Regions from separate parts of the Homo sapiens genome. Here regions 2 and 3 are each linked to region 1. The links are contacts of gene promoters, found by promoter capture Hi-C in blood cells and fetal thymus (Javierre and others, 2016). All regions are on one chromosome and are shown on one strand. The core of a region is centred on a gene start or on the middle of the fragment in contact, and the rest is flanking DNA. Distances in the headings are between cores, read along the strand shown. Region 1 holds the start of TMEM71 (transmembrane protein 71). Region 2 holds the start of MIR7848 (microRNA 7848). Region 3 overlaps TG (thyroglobulin).

Region 1 (2,700 bases), core at 99-2,598:
ATCCACTTCCAAGCTCACACACTTGGTTTTTGGCTGGATTCCTGGCTGTTGGATGGAGCATCAGACCCTTACTGGCTTTTGAGACCACTCTTGATTCCTTGACACATGGGCTTCTCCACCATGGCAGCTTGCTTCATCAAAGCAGGCAAGCAAGAAAGTAATAGAGTCCAACAAGATGGAAGCCTCATCATGGTAGTGGAAACTCAGCACCTTTGCCTTACTTTATTTACAAGGAGCATGTCAGCAGCCTCAGTCTACACTCAAGGGATGGAGAATAGACATGAAGTTCCAGAGACAGAGAACTTTGAAATTAGATGGGCCCTCCTCCTGACAGTTCCTGCTGCCTAGAACATGTTCTACAGAAGATCCTGCCATGTGGCAGAACCTCAGGGGGAAAGGGAACCCCAGGAAAGGATGAGATTAACTTTTCCGCCAGCCGGACCAACTGGTGCCTCAGAAGAGAACTTGATTTAAGAAAACAAATAAAGAATACACCTTGCACATCTGTGCTGAGGACTCGATTATTTCTCATTTCTTTTATTTCATTTAATTCTTCAAGCCATCATATGACATATATATTTTTATGTTTATAATTGAGAAAACTGCAACTCAGAGGGGTAAGTCACAAATCTGAGGTCACACAGCTAGGATGGTAGACAGGTTGAATTTCTGTCTTGTGACCCCAGAATCCGCACTCTTTCCACTATGCAGTGGTACCTCAATGTTGCTGGAATATATATTTGAATGTACATTTCTTTTATCACTTACAGTAGTACAGATGTGTATGAACCCATAAACACCATCAAGTCTTTGAGCTCTACTATAATGTAAATGTAAAATGCCATCTATAGAGTTTTTTGTGAAGTCCAACCTTCATTAGATAAACCTATTGCCTCTATAGAAATTTTCATAAGATCAAGCTCTTGCTATTTAATAGTATTCTGAATTTAATAGCATCAGTGCATTATCCTCAATAAATTTAAGTGATTTGGACAAAGATCACTACTCTGCACTACTTATAACTGAATGTGGCCATATGATGAGCAAGAAATGTCAGTTCGCTGAGTCTTTCTCACGTTCTCGCAGCCAAAGGTGACAAGTTAGCTCAGAAAACCACCCCTCCAGTGACCAGGGTGTAACCAGCTGGCCTGACACATGGGCTGCACATTCCCTGCTGCTGGCCCAGGAAACTCTCTGAAATCTTCAGCACACTCCTCAGTGTGAATGCCACTGATGTGAGCCCAACAGGAAGTGTGACCTCATTCTGCTTCTTTGCCTCTGGTTACGCAGGCTGTTTTCAAAAGAAAACAAGAGAAGTTGTAAGACTGACTTTCCCAAGAACTATACACTCATTTATACCAGGAAACAGACAAGAGAACAAGAGGCTGCCGAAGACAAAACTTCTCTGCAAGCACCTGTGCACAGCAATGTGCGTGGGCATCTGTGAGAAGAAGGTAGGGTGGGATTCCCTTTATTAAGAGACTTCTGCACCTGTTGACATTCAGACATTTTTCAGCCGAGGAACTGCTCAGTCCTCAATTTTTCCACTGTCAACCACAGGAAGCTTCGTATTTCAGTAATAATTTTGTCCTTTGTCAATTGGAAGAAGAGGCTGGGAACTCCCTTTGGAAGGAACACGTATGCACACATTATTTTTCAGAATAGATGTGTCGCTTTGATGGAACTGGCAGATTCTGTTTCTTGAAAAGTTTTAGATCTGTAACTGAAGGGCTTTTTTTTTTCCTACTGTTACTAATTTTCTATTGAATGTCAGTGTACTGCCTGTAGATTCTTCTAAGCACTTGTGAGATAGAGCAATAAGACCTTCTTTTGCTGCAGGATTTATAGGCTTAAAATTAAGCTTAATACTTGGGGAACACTAAAATAAGGTAATTTGGGCTGGGCATACCCGTACAATATTGATCAAAAATGAAAAGAACAAGTAACATACTAATATATTACATTACACTGGGATTATTTTATATCCCAAACAAATGAAATTTGTAAATGTGTGCTTTGATTTAGAAATCTTCCAAGGAAGGCCAGAAAGTTCTCCTGACATCTTTACAGGTCTCTATAAACCAGGTTTATATTTTCCTAATAGGGTTTATATATAATTTATTGAAATATTCAACTTGAAGCTGTAGAATTAGCCTGGTTTGATTGATTGAATTACAGCTACAAAAACAATCCATTACTAGTTCTCATGTTACAAAATGTGGCCATAAGTGGTGAATCAGAAAATAATTTACTCCTACCTTATAAAGCGATTAGGATAGTGATACTATATACAAAGTTTCATAGTCAACAGAAGTTGGTTCTATTTGATGAACAGTAAATGATCAAAGTTTGCATAATTTACATACTTTGATATGTTTTTAATTAGTAATTGAGAAATTAAATCATGTCTTCATGGGAACTAAGTTCTAAAATCTTCCCAATGGTATGCTATCTTTAGTGCAACATTACTTATGCTGTTTAGGAATGTCCAGGCTGATAAAAACTATTAAAATCACTCTCTGTGACTACCTGTCAATGGTTCAAGTTGTTGGGAAAAAGACAGACACCAATCTCCAAGCACTGTTTGAAACTTGATAATGAAGTTGACTTGTGTCAGATGATTAAAATACACGTAAGTTTGTTTTGGGGCTAAATGACTGTTAGAACCAGTCATTTTATTAAGATTTCTTAATCAAATAC
Region 2 (2,700 bases), core at 201-2,700, 290 kb before region 1:
GAGAGTGAGACCAAGAAAGGTGAGTGGCCCCCAACTCATCTTTCCCCATCCGGGGCAGACAAGCATGTTTTGCTCCTGGCTGACTCATTACACGGCTTCATTTTCCTTCCTCCTACGTCCATGCAAATTGATCCAATGTAGTTAAGCTCCCTGCAGCCCACACGCTGCTGGGGAGGCCAGTGGGGAAGCAAGGGGACTAGAGACAGGCAGTGGGGAGCCGGCTGGGCACTGCCACGGGCCTGGCCAACATCAGGCCTGATGACTCCTGCTGGAAATTTTTCCAGCAACTGAGAACAAAACTGAACGCAGTGTGTAGGCAGCATGCTGTGCAGATAGAATGTGGCCTTTGGTATGGGCCTGGGCTGTGCTCTCAAGCTCTGTGACTGATTTGTCTGAACTCAGTTTTCTCATCTGTGAAATGGAGAGAACACCTCTCCCTTGTAAGGGTGTGGTGAGATTCAAATGTCATAGTATTTGTGTTGCTCTTGCTGCACAGACAGTCCCGATATCAGTTTCCTCTGTGCTCCGTAACTAAATCAGACAGCTCCGAGAATCACATGTGTCCTCTCACACAGTCACCATCATCACTAGCATTACAATTTCCTTGCATCATATGCATTAAGTACCACAGTAAAAACACAAATAGAGTGAGCTCTTTGTCATGATGCAAAGCAAGGGTCCCAAGTTCCAATTTTAGCCTTACAAATTACTAATTTACTGCTTCTCTCTCTCTAAGCCTCAGCTCCCTGATCTAGACCATGAGATTTACAGTAGGAGAGTACCATGTTTATCCCCAAATACTTAACAGCTAGGGTTTTCCCAGACTGAATAATAATAATAACTTTTTTAAAATTCAGAAGGTATCTTCAAGTTCTTGGCTTGCTTCTTGTACATTCAATATCAAAGAAGAGAAAACACACTATCTGAGAGTACTTCCCATGCACCTAATAAGTGCCAAAGCCACCTGGTGCTAGAGCCCTTCACCAAAATGAGCATCAGCCTTGCTTTCAGAAAGCAGGGACCACATATATATGATTTAAAAAAAATCTGCGATCAACTTTTCTCTAAAAAACCCAAATATGCTGGGGTACAGAAAGATCAATGCAAAAGCAAAACATCCTGTGCCTGTCCTAGAGGTCCCCGGAGGCAGGATGCCCCGACTCAGAAAGAAACTCCTAAGCTGGCCTGGCCAAAGGGAGGAAGAACCCAGGGTGGGTGTCGTAACTCATCTAAAAATAACGATGTCATCAGGCAGATGTGCCATTGTGCTGGGGCTGGGTGGGTGTGGCAGGCCCACCTTGGGTATGCAAAGCTCTGACAGTGTTTCACTTGCTACCCTCGGTCTGCTTACCACACTCCCAGTTCTGCTGACCTTACGGGAAGGCTCATGCTGGGTTGACTCACGGCAGGCCTAGAGCACTGTGAGGGATGTGTGAGGACAAGGGTCACACCCCAGGGTGGCATTTCCAAGCCCCATGCCTCTGGCCATATCCCATAGGGGCTCTAGGCCTCTGTTTTCCCATCTTTAAAATAATTGGGGGCAATACCTCCTATGATCTTTCTGAGAATTAATAGAGATTTCATGGCAATTGCTTAGCCCTGCCCAGCAGAGATAGCAAATAATCAATCAGCTCCCTTTCTCCTCTGTCTCTTGGGTGTTTTCTACTCCTGGAACCCCAGAGCAAGAGAGGACCCTGAAACATGGCCTACATCCAATTCTTTCATTTTGCATTTGAGGAAATCGAGGCACATGGCTGCGGTTCTACTCTTACCAACCCATATCAGGTCATTGCTCTAACGAGGCTTAAGGAGCAATAACCCGCCTTTCACGTGGTTCTTACGGATACCCAGAAAGATGACTCAGCTTCTCCAGATTTCTGAGAAGACTAAGCATAAGTCAGAGAGAGTATAGACAAAGGAAAAGGGGGCATAACTGCAAGGACCCCCTCAAATGTGTGCTGTGGCAGCATTGGTGGGACAGGGGCTGAAAGAGCAAAACAGTAGGGATCACATCTTGGAGAGTACTCGGGAAGGAGTCCAAAAACGACCATGGATCCTGGAGCTACAGGTTGCAACCAAACTACAATCATTCCATTTGGCCTCAGGATGTGGAAGCACCCCAAATGTGTTTGCCTCAAAAAGCAAAGAGGATGAGGCCCGGCATGGTAGCTCAGGCCTGTAATCCCAGCACTTTGGGAGGCCGAGGTGGGCGGATCACTTGAGTCCAGGAGTTCGAGATCAGCCTGGGCAATGTAGCAACACTGCACCTCTACAAAAAATAAAAGAATTAACTGGGCGTGGTGGCGCATGCCTGTAGTCCCAGCTACTCTGGAGGCTGAGGTGGGAGGATCCCTTGAGCCCAGGAGATGGAGGTTGCAGTGAGCTGAGATGGCACCACTGCACTCCAGTCTGGGTGACAGAGCAAGACCCAGACTCAAAAAAAAAAAAAAAAAAAAAAAAAGCAAAGAGGATGAAACCTGTGTTCCTGAAAACCTGTAAGGACCATGTGATGAACATATCTGCTTTGACACAATAATACACTTCTGCAGTCTCTAACGGGAAGCAACATCTAAACAGAGAAGGGTCTAGTGGAGGGAGGGGCTGCATCCTAGCATCACTGTTGTATCCCAAGGGTGGGCAGGTCTCCCTGCCTCAGTGGTGGTGGGCTGGTTAGCTGGGTGCCTTGGGGTGAGGACAGGT
Region 3 (2,700 bases), core at 175-2,674, 340 kb before region 1:
CGGACAGTGTTTAGGGGCAGCAAGAGAATACTAAGACTAGAACTTCCATTTCTTTCTCTTGCTTTAACATTCTTTTGATTCAATAAAGGGTTTATAATAATTCAGGGTATTAGTACAAGAGTACACATGTATATAATTTATACTTAAATAACTAAACTTACTATTTCTTAACTGATGAGGGGCTTGATCAGAAGCAACTTGAGGATCCCTGTTTTAGAGACTACAAACTCTGAGGCAGTGGAGGAGAGTGGCACATTTCCAGTGATTCCTGAATGGTTGTCTTGTCCAATAATAAAATCTCAGCCCCTCAGGGTAAGGGCTATGCTGTATGTGAGTGCTTGGCAGAAAAAATGTTGAAATGGATCAGGTACAAAAGGTATTTTGCCCTGGCTGTGAGTTAGCTAGATGCAAGCTGAGGGTGACTAAGTTTTACTTGACACCCCCCCTTGCAACACACACACACTCACTCATACACCCTCAGAGAGAACTCTATCGCTGCTCACATGCCACACCCACCTTCCAGATAGGAACCTTCAGAAATCAACTTCACATGCAAACCTCACCAGCCCTGCTTCTTTCTCTCTCTCTACATACACACGCACACATAAATATATATAATATGTAACACATTATGCATGTGTGTATATATATACAGCAATAGTAATAATGCATAATATTCTTTCTCACATCTCTACATCTCCAGAGGTAGCCAATGTTAATTGCATGTTGTGAATCTTTTTACTCAGTTATCCTTCTATGCAGAAAAACATACAAATATACACACTTACAAATATAAAGATATATACAGGTTGGTTTTTAAAAATATGAATGCTATCTTAATTTCACATTCCTCTACATGTTTTTTGTCATTTTACAATGTGTCAGAGGCATCACTTAAGCCAGTAGAGATAAATCTAGCTCATTCTTTTTAATATCTGCATAATATTTAATAGCTTGTTTGTATCTTAATTTAGTCAACCATTTCCCTGTTAATGGACATTTGAGTTGCTTCCAATTTTTTGCCACAATAATCAATGCCACAATCAATCAATAAACAATGCAATGCAATAAATACTCTTGTATATATATCATGTAAAACTGGAGCTTTTATTGCTGTAGGATAGAGTCCCCAAGGTGAAATATATTACCCAAAGGAAACAGGATTATCCAAAGGAACTCAGGATCCTGTTTGGTTGCTTTCATGATTTAATAAAATTCCGGTTAGACTGCCTTATATTCAACAGAGCCAACAGAGACCCATGTCATGCATGTGCAGGGGAAGGTGCACTCCACCCACGCCCAGAGTTGTCCTCTCTTTGTGCTTTATGCACACTGGGCTTCCCTGTAGGCTTGACCACCTACAAGGCTTTGGCCAAGAGTAGCTTGTCCAAGGCAGGGTGGGGTGGGCAGAGGAGCATGTGCTCAGCCTCTTCCAGGGTTAGCCACATCCTAGTGAGTGGCTGTAACTTCTGGCGAGAGCAGGAACTGTGCATTCAAGCAGACTGAAGACCTCCCAGCTCACTCCCACTTCACTGTGCCTCCAGCAAGCCACACAAAGCTGCGTGTTTGCCAGGTGCATTGTGCGTGCTCTCTTTACTAGGAAATTTAACTTGGAAGCCTGGTGCTTCAGTGTCTTTTTCAGGATTGGGAAAGGGTGATGATTTAACAAGAGTCCCTTCATCTCCCTGCCTCATCATCTCTCAGTTCTCAGTACAACAAGCATCCTCCATGAAATATGGGTGGCATGGTCCAGAATGTGGGTATTCTAACTTGCAGCCCTGAGCTGCAGAGCTTCTGGGTCAGCTCCAGTTTTCCACAGCGATTCATTCACAGCTGTAATTTGTGGATGTGCCTGTGTTGCTCACTACCCTGCAAGTGTCTAATTTCTAAATCCCCCCATTACCACCTCCTAAACTCACATAGGCATTGCACACAGTAGTTACTCAGCAATTGGTCAATATCTCTTGATCAAGTCAGACATTGAGGTCCAGAGCCCTTAGGAAATGCCCAGCTGGAGACATCCGAGGCCCCCTCCCTGCTTACCTTCACAGCCTTTGCTCTGTTGATGAGCCCGTCGTCCTGAGAACTCCCAATGAGCAGATCGACCTCTACCCATAAAGACCTCTTCAGTGCTCTGGCTGGAGGCTCACGGAGGAAGTGGCCATCGATCACAGGACCCCAGTAGTGGAAAGGGCCACTCACGGCCAGGAGCTGCATTGGATGCAACAATAATCAGTTGTCCTGGAATAATCAGTTGCACTGCTTTGCATAAAGAGGTCTTAACCATACTGAATGCCAATACTGGTTATCCATCTATGACTCTACTGAGAAAAAGTGACCAGGACAACTGGCAGGCAGGACACCATGTGACAAAGTCAGGGGCTGGAGGGTGAATGAATCTCACTCTCAGCAATGATGGTCTCCAGGGGAGCATCCCAGAGGTAACAGCAGATCCCCAGGTAGGGATGGGAAAGCCTGAGCCTGTAGGTGGGTGAGGAAGGCAGGAGGAGACAGTGGTTGAAGAGGAGGCAGTGACTCTGACAGGTGAAATTCACCAGCTCCAGCTATGATCAAATTAGCCTGCACTTAGGGGAGCTGAGAATAAGACCTGCTCCAATTCTGTGAGTCCAGACTCATTGCTAAGGCGATCAGGCCATCAATTGCCATGACAATTATTCCTGCTAATGTCCCCTTCATTAA

What was found. Contacts are between HindIII fragments. The CHiCAGO score rates a contact against its expected background, and 5 or more counts as called.
Region 2: a fragment that was not itself captured here is called in contact with the fragment with the promoter of TMEM71 in region 1 in 1 of 17 cell types (activated CD4 T cells); the score reaches 6.7 in activated CD4 T cells.
Region 3: a fragment that was not itself captured here is called in contact with the fragment with the promoter of TMEM71 in region 1 in 1 of 17 cell types (activated CD4 T cells); the score reaches 5.2 in activated CD4 T cells.

What each region holds. Positions count from the first base shown.
Region 1 is chr8:132,759,230-132,761,929 of GRCh38, reverse strand. It overlaps TMEM71 (transmembrane protein 71), which reads left to right and starts at 1,348. Exons shown (of 10, transcript NM_001382403.1): 1 at 1,348-1,454. The HindIII fragment of the contact is 4,740 bases long and covers 1-1,566 here.
Region 2 is chr8:133,045,149-133,047,848 of GRCh38, reverse strand. All of the region lies in intron 41 of TG (thyroglobulin), which reads right to left. It overlaps SLA (Src like adaptor), which reads left to right. Exons shown (of 9, transcript NM_001045556.3): 6 at 1-19. It overlaps MIR7848 (microRNA 7848), which reads left to right and starts at 1,268; the gene lies at 1,268-1,368. The HindIII fragment of the contact is 6,246 bases long and covers 1-2,700 here.
Region 3 is chr8:133,095,717-133,098,416 of GRCh38, reverse strand. TG (thyroglobulin) reads right to left here. Exons shown (of 48, transcript NM_003235.5): 43 at 2,044-2,211. The region is part of intron 1 of SLA (Src like adaptor); the gene reads left to right. Among named protein-coding and RNA genes, the nearest start is that of SLA, 5.5 kb to the left of the region's middle. The HindIII fragment of the contact is 4,110 bases long and covers 1-2,700 here.